3 separate regions of the Homo sapiens genome follow, and regions 1 and 2 are each linked to region 3. Evidence: promoter capture Hi-C in 16 types of primary human blood cells and fetal thymus (Javierre and others, 2016). All regions are on one chromosome and are shown on one strand. Each heading gives the region's core, a stretch centred on a gene start or on the middle of the fragment in contact. The rest is flanking DNA. Distances are from core to core; before and after follow the strand shown. Region 1 overlaps PSMD6 (proteasome 26S subunit, non-ATPase 6). Region 2 overlaps ATXN7 (ataxin 7). Region 3 holds the start of TMF1 (TATA element modulatory factor 1).

Region 1 (4,376 bases), core at 1,394-3,893, 5.0 Mb before region 3:
GCAGTGGACAGAAGCAGCATGGAGGAAAAGAGCACTGGAATTCAGGCTGAGGAACTGTGAAGCCAAGGGTGTTGTATAGGTTGTCCATTTCAAATTAGGGTTGCTTGGTTCTGGGATGATTTGCATGGAAGAGGGGAGAGTGACTTGGAGATGTGTGATTGAGGACAGTGAGCACAGTGAGTTGATGGTGTTGCTGGGTTATAAGCAGCTTCAAAGAGAAGGCATTTTGAATGAAGGTGGAAACATAATGGCCAGGAGAACAAGCAAAGGACTAGGAAACAGTGAACTTCATCTTGGCCTCAAGTTCCTGAGGTGCATATGAATAAACAGTCTCTAACCCAGAGGGTTTCAAGAAAAGCAGAGTCCTCAAAATCCAAAGGTAGAGTTTCCCCACATTGATATTATACTAATTACACGTATAACAGTACTTTGGAAAAGCACAGGTCTCTGGTCACCTCTAAAAGGCAAGGTTGGTAAGGAGGTCAGGGTGTCACCTGTTGGTAGTCTTAACTAAATGGTCTCTTCAAGGGATCTAAGGATGGAAAGGGGATATATAATGGTTGGATTAAAGGCTCATCATTGATTAGCAAATTGTCCCTTTTGTTTCTTAAACCCAATTTGTACAGGGAAAGTTATGCCACTGTAAGATATTTTTAAATGGGGAAAAAAAAAAAAAAAAAAAAAAGGTTATACCCTTTGACCATGTATGTCAAGGTTAAAATGGCCTGGATCAGATTGCTACAAATTCCTGATAGCCTTTGTATTCCTTCAGAAACACAAGCATAATGCAAATCTGTGGCTCTACAGCTTTGAAACCAAAACTAGTGATTATCAGAGCTTTTCATGTTATCCAGATGGGGATTTTACCCCACTCCCCCATTGCCATTGTGGAGGCACAGGTTTGTTACCAGCAACTACAAGTTTATGTAGCATTGGGAAGGTCAGGGATTATCATAGTTCCCTCCACGCTTTTTCCCCCATAATCATGGGGGCAGATATTTCAGCTGTCAGCTGTTCATCTTAAAAACATTAGGTTAACAGCAGCACCAAGGACTAATTCAGAATATGAAATTACAGAAATGATTTGCTAATGATTTAGTAGCCTTTTATCAGTTAATGTTTGGTCAGGTTATAAAAGACCAAATGTGTTCAGTCACAAAATCCTAAGTGTATTGAGTATTGCATGCTTAGTGATCAAGTTGTAGGCATCCTTCTAGCCATCTGGGGCAGGTAAAAGTTGGGTGCTTAACAAAAGTGGTTTTTACACTGTTTCTGTCCTAAGAGACACTGTTTTTTAATAGCTTAAAAATTGACCTAAAGCTGTTATTTCTAATACAGGAAATAGATTACCATAATTTGACATAGCTTTAAAATATTTAGCTCTTACTCGATAGATTTGCTATAAAATCAACTTTTACTGAGGTAAGAGAAACTGGCATTTCTGCTTTAAAAATAATCACAAAAGATAGTTTATCCTGGCGATATCATTTCACACTAGGATAGTTACTTTTGACTGAAACCAGGGTTAAAAATAAGATTGTTTCCCACTTCAAAAGAAAACATTTACCAACATGAAAAAGGAACTATGTATAACTGTTTTAGCATCATTTCATAATCTTATTTTCATATTGTGAAGTAACCTTCTTGAATAAAAGCAGAAAATTAAGACTTTCAGAAAACAAGCTGTACCAGTTAAAGCTACTAGAGACAGGATAAAGGTTAGGAATTCTTTGGATAGTTTCTCCTAGCTCAAGCTTGTCCAACCCAGAGCCCACAACAGCTTTGAATGTGGCCCAACACACATTTGTAAGTTTTCTTAAAACATTATGAGCTGTTTTGTTTTGAGCTCATCAGCTATCCTTAGCGTATTTTGTGTCACCCAAGACAATTCTTCCAGTGTGGCCCAGGGAAGCCAAAAGATGGGACACCCCTGTCTTAGTTGATTAACACAGGAGGCTGTTAACCATCAACCTCACATGCACAATATTGGGGGTAGTGCAGGGATAACAAGCTCAAATGCCAGCAGGGGCCAGGCAGACAGGCAGTGTATATGAACAGACTGGGTGGACTGGGGCACACTGGAAAACACGCTATGCTTGTCGCTCAGCTTATTGGAGCGTGAGTCCAGATTTAGCTTCACCTGTCCTTTTTCCAGAGAAGCTAGATATGTGGTTTTTAAACTGTCAACTTTTACGTGGTAACTATAAATTTTTTTCTTGGAAAAGTATTTAGGGTGTGTCAATTGCCGCCTGTGGGTGAACAACTGCAACTCTGTAGCATTCAGAAGCCACCTTTGCATTCCTGACTAGCTTTGGTTTTCTGTAGAAAACCAAAAAGCTGAGGTTTTTTTCCTTTAAGAAATGTTTTCTAGATAAGCATTTTTAGAAATTCATAGGTGGATATTCTCAAATACATTAGGCATAGTCAGCATTTTAAAAGCCTCCCCTCCACAATACAGTGCCTACAGGAAACTCCTTTCAAAACAGAGATCTAGCCACATTGCTTTCCTTGGCATACAACCAATGGCTCTTCTTCCAGCGATGAGAGCTGCTGTCTTCACTTTTAAGATAATGCTTCTAATATTTTGCCATTAATTACCTTGTGATAGGGCTTTGATATCCCAACCTATTATTCATAGTCTACTGAAGAGTTTTTTTATCATGAAGAAATGTTGAATTATATCAAATTATTTTCAATCAAATGAGATCATGTTAACAGGAGTATGTTATTCCTGTTAGGAATTCCATATTAGGAATATGTTATTCCTAATATGTTAACAGGAATCATTCCCATCAGTAAATGTTATTTAAAGCAAAAAAACTCAAAACTCTTCTTTCCTTCCCTTGCCTTTTACAGTAAAATGCCATTTCCCATTCTCTTCTGAACTCACCTCTACCAAAACTGCTCATTAAGGTCACTAGCTGTCTTTCACTTAAGCCAAAAAGCCTAGGATCTCCTCTGACAAATTTTCTCCCCCTCATCCTCCTCACCCCATTCTTCAATCTTTTAGCAAATCCAGCTGCCTGTACAATCCATGCCACCGAATGCCGTAAGTGAGACGTAAAAGGTAAGCCAAATCCGCACTTAAAATTGCCAGTGACTTTCCTCGTCTTTCTTCCCTCCATACGTTCATGGGCTCTCCCTCCTTTTCACTTAAATGTCACCTTACCATAGAAGCCTTCCACAACACCTCAGAAGACGGCCTATACCCTGTATCTCTATCTATCTATCTATCTATCTGTCTGTCTATCTGGTTTTATACTTCTTATAGCACTTATTCCTATCTGACACACTGAATAAAACTGATAAAACTAATAAACTGTTTCAAACAAACAGAGGAACAACTTTGTTTTCCTCACTGCTATTATTACTATGGTCCTACTTTTGGAAAAAAGATTCAGTTTGCTAATAAATACTTACATATAAGGTTTTAGAAAACTGAGATCAGCCTTGGTAGATTCTGTAATCCAGGTTATGTCAGCTTCCTAAAAAAGAGTAACTTCCTGCCTTATATGGTTACTTGTTTCTGAGGGAAAGCTTATTACACATTTTCTTTATCTTCTATCTTTTGTATACTAAAAGTGGGAGACACTGTTTGTTTAATTTTAGGCCACTACTCTTCTTTCTAAAATCGGGAAGCTTACAGGTAAGAGATTTAAAGGTAAGCGATAATGGGCTGTGTCAACATCCGTATTTTACTGACGTATTTTACTGATGAGGCAGTCAGGAGCTGAACCTAGCTGAACCCAGCTGCAACCTTACCCTATAAACCAGATTTTCATTAATGAATAATTCAAGTGACATTATTTTAACATAAGTGGACCCGATTCTAGAAGGCCTATGTGTTTAAGAAAAAAATAAATGGAAAGAAACAACAATGCAGTATTTATTTTATACAGCTGACCTGGGCACATTGTGAAGTAAGCTATAAAAATTCCAAATAATTATCTCTAAAGCAAATCCTTTGTTAGTTACATGGCTTTACATATTAATTACTCTGGAAAGTTTTTGAACTCTGTTTAGTAGCAGATCTCCTTTCTTGATAGTTTCTTGGTACTGCCAGTTCTTGCTATCAGGTCTATAAATAAATTCAAGAAAAAATGAATTATTTACCAGTCACATTATTCCATGACAATAGTTGACCTACTTTTAAAATTTAGGAATGCCCCTTATTCTGAGAAATGAGAGTACCTGTTGGTTTCTACTATTTCATTCACTTTATCTATTTTGCAGTGTAGTCTCCCGGCAGCAATAAACCTGGACAGTTCCCTAATTTAGAGACAAAAAATAACAGAATTAGCTTTATAGAAAATTCTTAGAAAAATGCAAACGGCATTAAAATACTGTCTTAAATTTGTAACAAACATTTAGCTTCC
Region 2 (4,207 bases), core at 1-2,500, 5.1 Mb before region 3:
GATTTTTACTTTTGGGGTGAATGAATCACTTCCAGAAACTTGGGGTGGTGCCTCTAAAATATGTACACGGGTTAAAGCTTCTCTCGGTTTGTTTCACTCTCCTCCATTCCCTCGCACACTGATCTCATGTTCTCTCTTTGCTGGACGAATTCAAGTTCCCCAGGCGCACAGTGTGACTTCCAATTGCGGGTCGGGGGCACACATGTGGGCGGCGTGGCGTGCACACGGTACTTCGTCCTGACACCTGGGCAGACACCTGGGAGGCACTTCCCCGCTAGCCCAAGGTTCCCTGCACGCCCGGAGTCCGCTCTGCGGCGGCTTCCCATTCATGCTTTTGACAACTCTGCGGCCGCCCGCAAGCCGAGGGCAAAGTGCCCCCTGCACCAGCCTCTCCCGCGCTGCCCTGGGGCCGGCCGGCCGGCTCCTCCATAGGTGGCTGCATTTCCGACTTCGCCCTGGCTCCAGTCCGGGGGCTTGACGTGCAAACTTCGCCGGAGCGAGCTGAGAGGGAGGGACCGGCAAGTGGGAGGAGGCGGCGGGAGGCGTCTCCGCTTAAGGGAGCCGGCCGGGTGCCGCCGCTCGGACGGACGCGCGGACGGAAGGAAGGAGCGGGGCAGCCGGGCCGGGCCCGGGGATGCAAGCGGCCGAAGGGTGGGCAGCTGGAGGTCCTGGGGTGCGGCTCGGGCTTCCCCGCGCGGGCTGCCATGGTGGGGCGCGGGGTTGGAGCCGGGCCGCTCCGGCGCTGGCCTCCGCGCCAGGTCCTCTGAGCAGAAGCAGGCAGGGGACCCAGCGCCGCGGTGGCGGGCCGCCTGCTGCCCGTCCCCTCCCTCGGGCGGCCGCGGGAGTCGAAAGCGAAAGCTAGCCCGCGCCGCGGACTTTGAGCCCGGGGCGGGGGGTGGCCTTGAGGAGGCGGGCTCGGGGGGCTGGGCGGCCATGGGGGCGCTGTCAGCGTGCCCCACCCGGTCCGCGGGCCGCGCACGCCGCCGGAACTCCCTGGCGCCTCCTTAAAAAACGGCCCCCGCGCGACTCTTTCCCCCTTTTTTTTGTTACATTGTAGGAGCGGAAAGAATGTCGGAGCGGGCCGCGGATGACGTCAGGGGGGAGCCGCGCCGCGCGGCGGCGGCGGCGGGCGGAGCAGCGGCCGCGGCCGCCCGGCAGCAGCAGCAGCAGCAGCAGCAGCAGCAGCCGCCGCCTCCGCAGCCCCAGCGGCAGCAGCACCCGCCACCGCCGCCACGGCGCACACGGCCGGAGGACGGCGGGCCCGGCGCCGCCTCCACCTCGGCCGCCGCAATGGCGACGGTCGGGGAGCGCAGGCCTCTGCCCAGTCCTGAAGTGATGCTGGGACAGTCGTGGAATCTGTGGGTTGAGGCTTCCAAACTTCCTGGGAAGGACGGTGAGTGTCCACGCCCTCCTCCCCCCTTCACCCCCTCGCGACCCCCTCCTCTCTCCTCCCCTCCCCCCTGCCCCCCTCCTGTGACCCGCCCCCTCGAGGGGCAGAGATGCTATCGTTTGCTGGGTTGCGGAACGCGGAGGTGCCCACACCTACCCCGTGCGTGCGTGAGTGTGCGTCACACTCCTGGCCACTGACCTGCCTCTCCCCTCCTCCTGTGTGTGTATATCTCCTAGGGACAGAATTGGACGAAAGTTTCAAGGAGTTTGGGAAAAACCGCGAAGTCATGGGGCTCTGTCGGGAAGGTGAGTCCAGCCCCCCTGATGGAGTTTGTACAAACCCCTGGGAAGTTTCATTGACAGTTCACTGGGACCGGGAACATCAGCCCACCATACCGACTCCCCGACTCCCCGTGCCTGCGAAGATGCTGCCTGAGGAGGGAGGGAGGGGGCAGAGCGCTTGGAAAGTTTGGTTTGGGGGCCTCCTGTAATGAGAGCGTCCGGAATCCTTCTGTGACCAGGCAGGAGCAGCATTATTGGTGATGAGCGCTGGGAACCGGCGGGAAGTTTAACCTAGATCTCTGCATTTCTGACCTCCTTACGGAGAAACAGGAGTAGAGGAAGGAATTCTCAGCTTTGAAACCTTTCCACGAATGCTTAGGGGACATTTTCTGTTGGCAATCGAAACGAATTTTGAACTTAAAGAAGATGCTTTACCTATGCAGTCTTATTTCTGTAGGATTTAAGGTACAAGTTGGGGATGTTAGAAAAAGGTCATCATAACCCGGAGTGCATTTTGGTCAGATTTTTTGCGAGCTGCCAATATCACGGGGGAAAGAAAGCCAGAATTTTATTTGGTCAAATAAGCCTTTACTGCCCGTGGCTGGTGAAATCAGGGTCTAATTATTTGTTAGTTTTAAACTGTTTGGTAAAAAGATACACTAGGGAAATAGGGTATGCCTCCAAATGAAAGTCAGGCCAGGTATCTGGAAAGTGTCAGACTTTTTCTTGAGATTTTCTTTTTCTTTGAATAGTAAGCTTTTGTTGTCTAATACCTGCACTAGGCCTGGGCATACCGTGGTCAGAAAGGACTTCTGAAGTCCAGTGAACTTCGGGTTCAGTTTCAAGTTATTCTTTCAGTGAGTTAGGACAAGGCTTTGAGTGAGGTTTGGCCCCGGAATACTGAGTTTATAGTCCCCGAATGCAATTTTATTTCTCACTCGTAGCCATTTATTTTGCAGAATTGTTGTCTATGGCCCAAGGATAGGTAGAACTTTGGCAACTGGAACATTTTTAAGTCCAAAGTTTGCCCATTGTTACTGTCTTCACATTTCCTTCTCGCTTTTCACACCTGCTTTTTCTTCACTTAACTCTGTTTCGGTTTTTTTGAATTGGGCGCTTTTTGGCCTCTTGGCACTCGGAGGAAGAGTAATACCAGTGACAGCCCGATGAGAGCTTCCAATTGGAACAGATTATAGAACAAATTAGTTGATTTTTAAAATGAGAATTGCTATTTGAGGGTAAAGGAAAGCAAGGGAAAGCACAGGACTTGTTGATGATGTTGCAATATGAAAAATCAGTTGCTAGTCCGGTTTTAGTGCTGAATTGGCAGCCTGCCTGGGCTTAAAAAATTAAAATCACTAGGTGGCAACTCTCACAGTAAGCAGTTAGAGTAGAACTTTAGAGGACCTGACCTACTCTTGTTCTTAGTTTTCATTCTCTGGGTGTGGATACATATCCTATAAAACGTTTCTAAATCTGTGTGAAAACAAGATTGTAATTATCAATAATTCTGCTGTAAAGGATGAGTTAAGTGTATTAATGTTTCAGTGGGTACCTTGAGCTGGACAGGGACCCAACCAAATTAAGGGGACTGTACCTCATTTTTGCTAGATATATTATTTTCTGTTGGGATACTTTTATCAGCATGTTTTTCATGAAGAACTAAGACGTTAAACTACCTACTTGAGGCACAAAAGGGACATGGATCTTGTTAGTGTTTTGTTTTGTTTTTTGAGACGGAGTCTCACTCTGTGGCCATGCTGGAGTGCAGTGGTGCGATCTTGGCTCAGTGCAACCTCCACCTCCTCAGTGCAACCTCCACCTCCCAGGTTCAAGCGATTCTCCTGCCTCAGCCTCCCGAGTAGCTGGGACTGCAGGCGGCGGGCCACCACACCCAGCTAATTTTTTGTGTTTTAGTAGAGAGGAGGTTTCACCACGTTGGCCACGATGGTCTCAATCTCCTAACCTCGTGACCCACCTGCCTCGGCCTCCCAAAGTGCTGGGATTACAGGTGTGAGCCACCGCCTGGCCCTTGTTAGTGTTTTTTAAGGGTTCCCCTCCTCCCCCTTTTAAAGTTGTTCTAACCATTTAGAGGATGCTGTAGCTACCAGGCCACTTGGAACGTACACCTGTCTGAGTTGAGACCGAAGTTTTAAATTCAGTCAGTTCTTCATTTGTTTGTGACTTTGCGGATTATGTGGGGATATTTTAAAATCCAAGTTTGAGGATGTTCAGCACTCACTCAGTGGACCTTTATGTTCTCCTAACAGACCATTGTAGGCTGCTTCAGAAATGAAAATACATTTAATATTATCAAAACTTATTAGACTATTATTCATTCATTGTCTGCTTAAAATTATCAGCTACCAAGAAAAGATGTTTTGAAGTTGAATCCATACTGATTCCTCTTGTTAAATTGAAGAAATATGTAGATAAATTGATCATGTGAGTGAATCACTGGAAGTCAGAAATGACCCTTTATTTATTTTTTTTTTTTTTTGAGACGGTGTCTGACTGTTACCCAGGCTGGAGTGCA
Region 3 (4,627 bases), core at 356-2,855:
TGGACCAAAATATCTTAAACTGAGGTACCTCAAATTTAGGTCCTGACTTTTCAATGATGTAAAATTAAGAACAGAAACCAGAAAGGAGTAGTCAAGTACATCTCTTATCCTTTTTCACACAAAGGTTCACATCCCCCAACACCAGCAAATCTTTACCCCACACATCAAATGCTGAACTGTTCCTTAGACTTAAGAGTCAAAAGCAACTGAATGAAGATCCCTGAAAGATTAAGCTCAATGAAACTGCAAAGAGAGACTTGGCTATTCAGAAATAAAATGTGATACCATCCAGAAATCTTGGGTCACACATTTTCCGGCTAATACCTCCGGCACATTCTAATCCTCCTCCGCCGTGTGACCTAGAGCAAGTTACTTGGCCATTCTGGGCCTCATTTTCCTCTTATGTAAAACACGGATATAAACCAAGCTCTCTCTGGGAGTTGTTCTGAAGATGAGAAGGCCATAAAAAAGCACATTACAGGCTCGTGCCTGTAATCCCAGCACTTTAGGAGGCCGAGGTGGGTGGATCGCCTTAAGTCAGGAGTTCCACCAGCCTGGCCAACATAGTGAAACCCCGTCCCTACTAAAAATACAAAAAGTTGCCGGGCGTGGTGGTGGGCGCCTGTAATCCCAGCTACTAGGGAGGCTGGGGAAGGAGAATCGCTAGAACCTGGGAGGCGGAGGTTGCAGTGAGCCGAGATCGCGCCACTGCACTCCAGCCTGGGCGACGGAGTGAGACTCCGTCTCAACAACAACATAAAACCACATTACGCGCTACCAAGCGCGAAATGTTCACTGACTGTTAGCGATTGTTCTTCCCTTCCCTGATGATTTACGTACTTCAGACCTTGGATCCCAACAGTGCCCGAGACGCGAAGCAATTCGAGGTTCAGGTTCGGGAAGGTTGTGCTTGGAAGCTGCGTCGAGGGAGAGCTTGAGGGCAAGACCAACCAACCAAGTCCCCTGTCATCCAAGTCCACAAGCCTCGCACCCAGGACCAAAGAAAGACAAGGGGGAACCTGGATCTGGGTTTTCCCTCAGGAAAACAGCAAAGACCGACTTGGAGGCTGAAGCAGCATTAGGGAACGGGCCGGGGAGAAATTACTTCCTGAAAACTCTCTCAGCAAGGAAGGACCCCTCTCTACACCACTTAACCTGCCTGCATCAAGAGAACAGCAGCCTCCGGGAGCCAGGAACCCCGCTCCTCTCTCTCTTACCCGGCTCTCCATACGGAATGGTCTCGGCCCAGATGCTCGGCTCCTCTTCCTGGATGTCCAGAACCCTGTCAATAGACTTCTGGGCCTGGGACAGGGCCTGCTTAGCGAAGCTGGAGAGCTGGGAGGCGTTGAACCAACTCATCGCCCCTCCTCAGCCGGCAGTGGCGGCGGCAGCACCAAGCGGGAAGGCCTCAGGCCTGGGGAAGGGTGCAGAGGAACGGCTTCGCTCCCCTTTTCCACTCGGCTGGTTCTGTCAGCGTGTGGCCATTACCCCGACAGCCTCCCGCGAGCCCGGGATGTTACCCTCGGCCGTTCCCGCACAGCTGAGACGAAGGGGGCCCATGTGCGCATGCGCTTGCTTCTTCCACGTACACAGCAACCAAATCTACGAGCCCAGAGTTCGGTCGACAGACGGAAGAACAGAAGAACGTTGACGTCACATCCGGGAGCGCAGGGTTGCCGTTAGTTACCGAGGAACGCGGAAGGGTTTCTATTGATGTCGATTTCGTGCTTACAGCAGTTCTTAGCGAAGGGGAAGCTATGGCTACCGATAGAGGTCGATTTCCCCGGAAGGAATATTCAAGTTTTCGTGTGTGTGCTTTCCAGGAAAATAGTTCACGTGCTAAAAGCTTGCACCTTGCCAGCAATAATTGCAAAGGGAAATTGGGCCTCACACTTCTCTTAGCCCTTTGTCTCAAATATTTAATAAGCTCTGTATTAACTTGGTATTGTAAGGAGAAACACTTGTTTGGGCTTGCCTAAAAGACAGGATCACGTATGAACACTGTGTCCAACTCGTGGAACACATGGTGCATAAAGCACAACCTCTCTCTCAAAATAGTAGTAAACTCATTGCTGCAGTCAAAATACCCCTAATACTGTGGTCTGTCGGTGTCCCCTGCACAAATTCCTATGTTGAAACCTAATCTCCAATGGGACAGTATTAAGGGGAGCCTTTAGGAGATGATTAGATGATGATGGAGCCCTCATAAATGGGGTTAGTGCCCTTATAAGAGAGGCCCAAGGGAGCTCACGGCAAGAAGGCACCAACTCTAAGCCAGAATAGCAGCCCTCACCAGACACCAAATCTGCCGGCTCCTTATCTTGGACTTCTCAGCCTCTAGAACTGTTAAGAAACAAATTGCTACTGCTTATAAGCCACCCAGTTTATGGCAATTTGTTACAGCAGTCCAAATGGACTAAGACACCTAGGAAGCACTAAAGCTGTTATCCTAACAATGTGCACTGTGCATATTACTTAAAACATAACCTTTTCTGTGTGCATTCTCTTCGAACATTTGGACATGGGAAAATACCTTAAATTGGTGGCCTTCCTAATCCAGTCTGCAGCTATATTTGGTTTGGGCCCAAGTTAAAGACAAAATCCTAACTAAAAGCCAGATTTCATTCAAAAATCTAGATTTCCAGCTGCTTTTGAAAAATATGAATACCAAGCATGGGAATAGTCAGCCAGAGTGGTCACCAAATAATTTTCACTCACTCCAGTTTGCCACAGACCCCTATCACTCATCCTATTACACCCTCCCTGCTGTGATTATTTACCTTATATGCCTGCCTCCCATATTTGAATATTTTACCCCACTGCAAGGAACTCTGCAAAAAAGAATTATTTTTCTTTTAAAAAATCAGATTGAACCCCTTAAGAAGTTATAATCATCTTCCAATAATTTTATCTAACTACAGTAAAAACTTGCATGTTAAAACTAACAATTTAGTCATGTACACAAGTAGTACCAAGTAACTCAAGTACTTTCAAACAGCTAAGTAGTCTGCAGAGGAGATTTGGGGCAGATTCGGGTTGAAATTAGCTGTACAGTTACAGTTCCAAGACTTCTAATTGTACAGCTTTGGTGAAATGACCTACCTAAACCATCTAAAACTATTTATTCAGCTCTCAGATAGAGTCACCTTCTTACAATGCTACTTTGAGAATTATTATAGCACCTATATGGTGCTAAATTTTAGTTCCTTCACTTTCAAAATTGTAAGCTACACCTGTAACTTTTCAGGTAGAGCTTATAAATTTATTCCGTATGGTTTTATAATAAAACTTATTTGTCAATATGTAGCTAGAAAGATTACTGAAAACTTAACTCAGTGACACATAAGTAACCAAAAAACATTTGAACAGAAAACTGCCATATCTAAGTCAAAAACAAAGAATGAGAACACATACATGTTCTCATATTAAAATACTAGCACCTACTTTTTTAGTATTTGTACTTAATTTTGTTTGAAGTTTTATTCACTTAAAAGAAACAAAAACATGGTCAGGCATGGTGGCTCATGCCTGTAATCCCAGCACTTTGGGAAGCCGAGGGGGGCGGGGGGGGGTGGATCACCTGAGGTCAGGAGTTTGAGACCAGCCTGGCCAACGTGGTGAAACCCCGTCCCTACTAAAAATACAAAAAATTAGCCGTGCATGGTGGCAGGCGCCTGTAATCCCAGTTACTCCGGAGGCTGAGGCAGGAGAATTGCCTGAACCGGGGAGGCAGAGGTTGCAGTGAGCTGAGGTTGCATCATCGCACTCCAGCCTGGGCAACAAGAGCGAAACTCTGTCGCAAAAAAAAAAAAAAAAAAAATTATATTGATACAGAAAGTTAAATTAAACCAGTAAATTTTTACTATAGAAATTGCTGTAGCAAAAGTATTAAGTGCAATAAAAATTTGATATAACTCTGCTACACATTTAAAAATTATTCCTATATTACCATGGAACTACTGATTACCCTTAATGTACTTTTAAAAACTTCAGTGAAAGAAGTACACAATATATGATTTTATTAATAAATAGTGCAAAAGCATCAGTGATAACTGTTTGAACATTAAATTTTTTAAACAGCCATGTCTTGGCATTAGTTAATATTGTGCATATTGGCCTCTATGGCACTACAAGTAAACAGATGAAAATATTGCCCATTTTCATGCACAGGTATTCAGCTATAACACCATTTACAAATCATTATGAACAAGATAAATTCTGCAATAATATTCATTTGGATGGCCACAATTAAATGAGTGTTATATCAAGAAATAGCCTATGTTCAATATACTCCAGATGTCAGATTGTAAAATGTAATGTTATTTAAAACTTAATTCTTTATTTTCCTTAAAGGGACACCTTTTGTGTATTTGGGTACTCAAATGAAAACTTAGGAATGCATTCTTTGACCATAATAACAAAATTCACACAAAAGAGGTTGTATGCTTCCTCCTCTAAAAGAAGCAATACATTTGCTCATAATCTCTCTCTCCAGGTATCATTTCTCATATTATTAATGAAAATGCTTACAAGCACCAACACCAAAATTCTGTCTTCAAGGGAAGGTTACAAAGTTAAAAAAGAGTGGTTCATTATATAAAAAAAGACAAATCGTGGCAACACTATT

What was found. The method cuts DNA at HindIII sites, captures the fragments that hold promoters and counts their contacts. A CHiCAGO score of 5 or more calls a contact.
Region 1: a fragment that was not itself captured here is called in contact with the fragment with the promoter of TMF1 in region 3 in 1 of 17 cell types (total CD8 T cells); the score reaches 8.3 in total CD8 T cells.
Region 2: a contact is called between a fragment that was not itself captured here and the fragment with the promoter of TMF1 in region 3, in 4 of 17 cell types (non-activated CD4 T cells, activated CD4 T cells, naive B cells and 1 more). The highest score is 13.4, in non-activated CD4 T cells.

Annotation. Positions count from the first base shown.
Region 1 is chr3:64,006,687-64,011,062 of GRCh38, forward strand. It overlaps PSMD6 (proteasome 26S subunit, non-ATPase 6), which reads right to left. Exons shown (of 8, transcript NM_014814.3): 7 at 4,192-4,269; 8 at 3,865-4,078. The coding sequence ends at 3,982. PSMD6-AS2 (PSMD6 antisense RNA 2) reads left to right here. Exons shown (of 3, transcript NR_038286.1): 2 at 3,011-3,067. Among named protein-coding and RNA genes, the nearest start is that of PSMD6-AS1, 3.1 kb to the right of the region's middle. The HindIII fragment of the contact is 1,783 bases long and covers 1,753-3,535 here.
Region 2 is chr3:63,911,531-63,915,737 of GRCh38, forward strand. It overlaps ATXN7 (ataxin 7), which reads left to right. Exons shown (of 13, transcript NM_001377405.1): 3 at 1,058-1,393; 4 at 1,627-1,695. The coding sequence starts at 1,069. It also overlaps SCAANT1. Among named protein-coding and RNA genes, the nearest start is that of ATXN7, 50 kb to the left of the region's middle. RefSeq lists an enhancer at 122-201 and a silencer at 532-1,371. The HindIII fragment of the contact is 2,350 bases long and covers 76-2,425 here.
Region 3 is chr3:69,050,728-69,055,354 of GRCh38, forward strand. It overlaps TMF1 (TATA element modulatory factor 1), which reads right to left and starts at 1,606. Exons shown (of 17, transcript NM_007114.3): 1 at 1,218-1,606. The coding sequence starts at 1,359. It overlaps UBA3 (ubiquitin like modifier activating enzyme 3), which reads right to left. Exons shown (of 18, transcript NM_003968.4): 18 at 4,003-4,627. RefSeq lists an enhancer at 1,198-1,667. The HindIII fragment of the contact is 2,649 bases long and covers 1-1,844 here.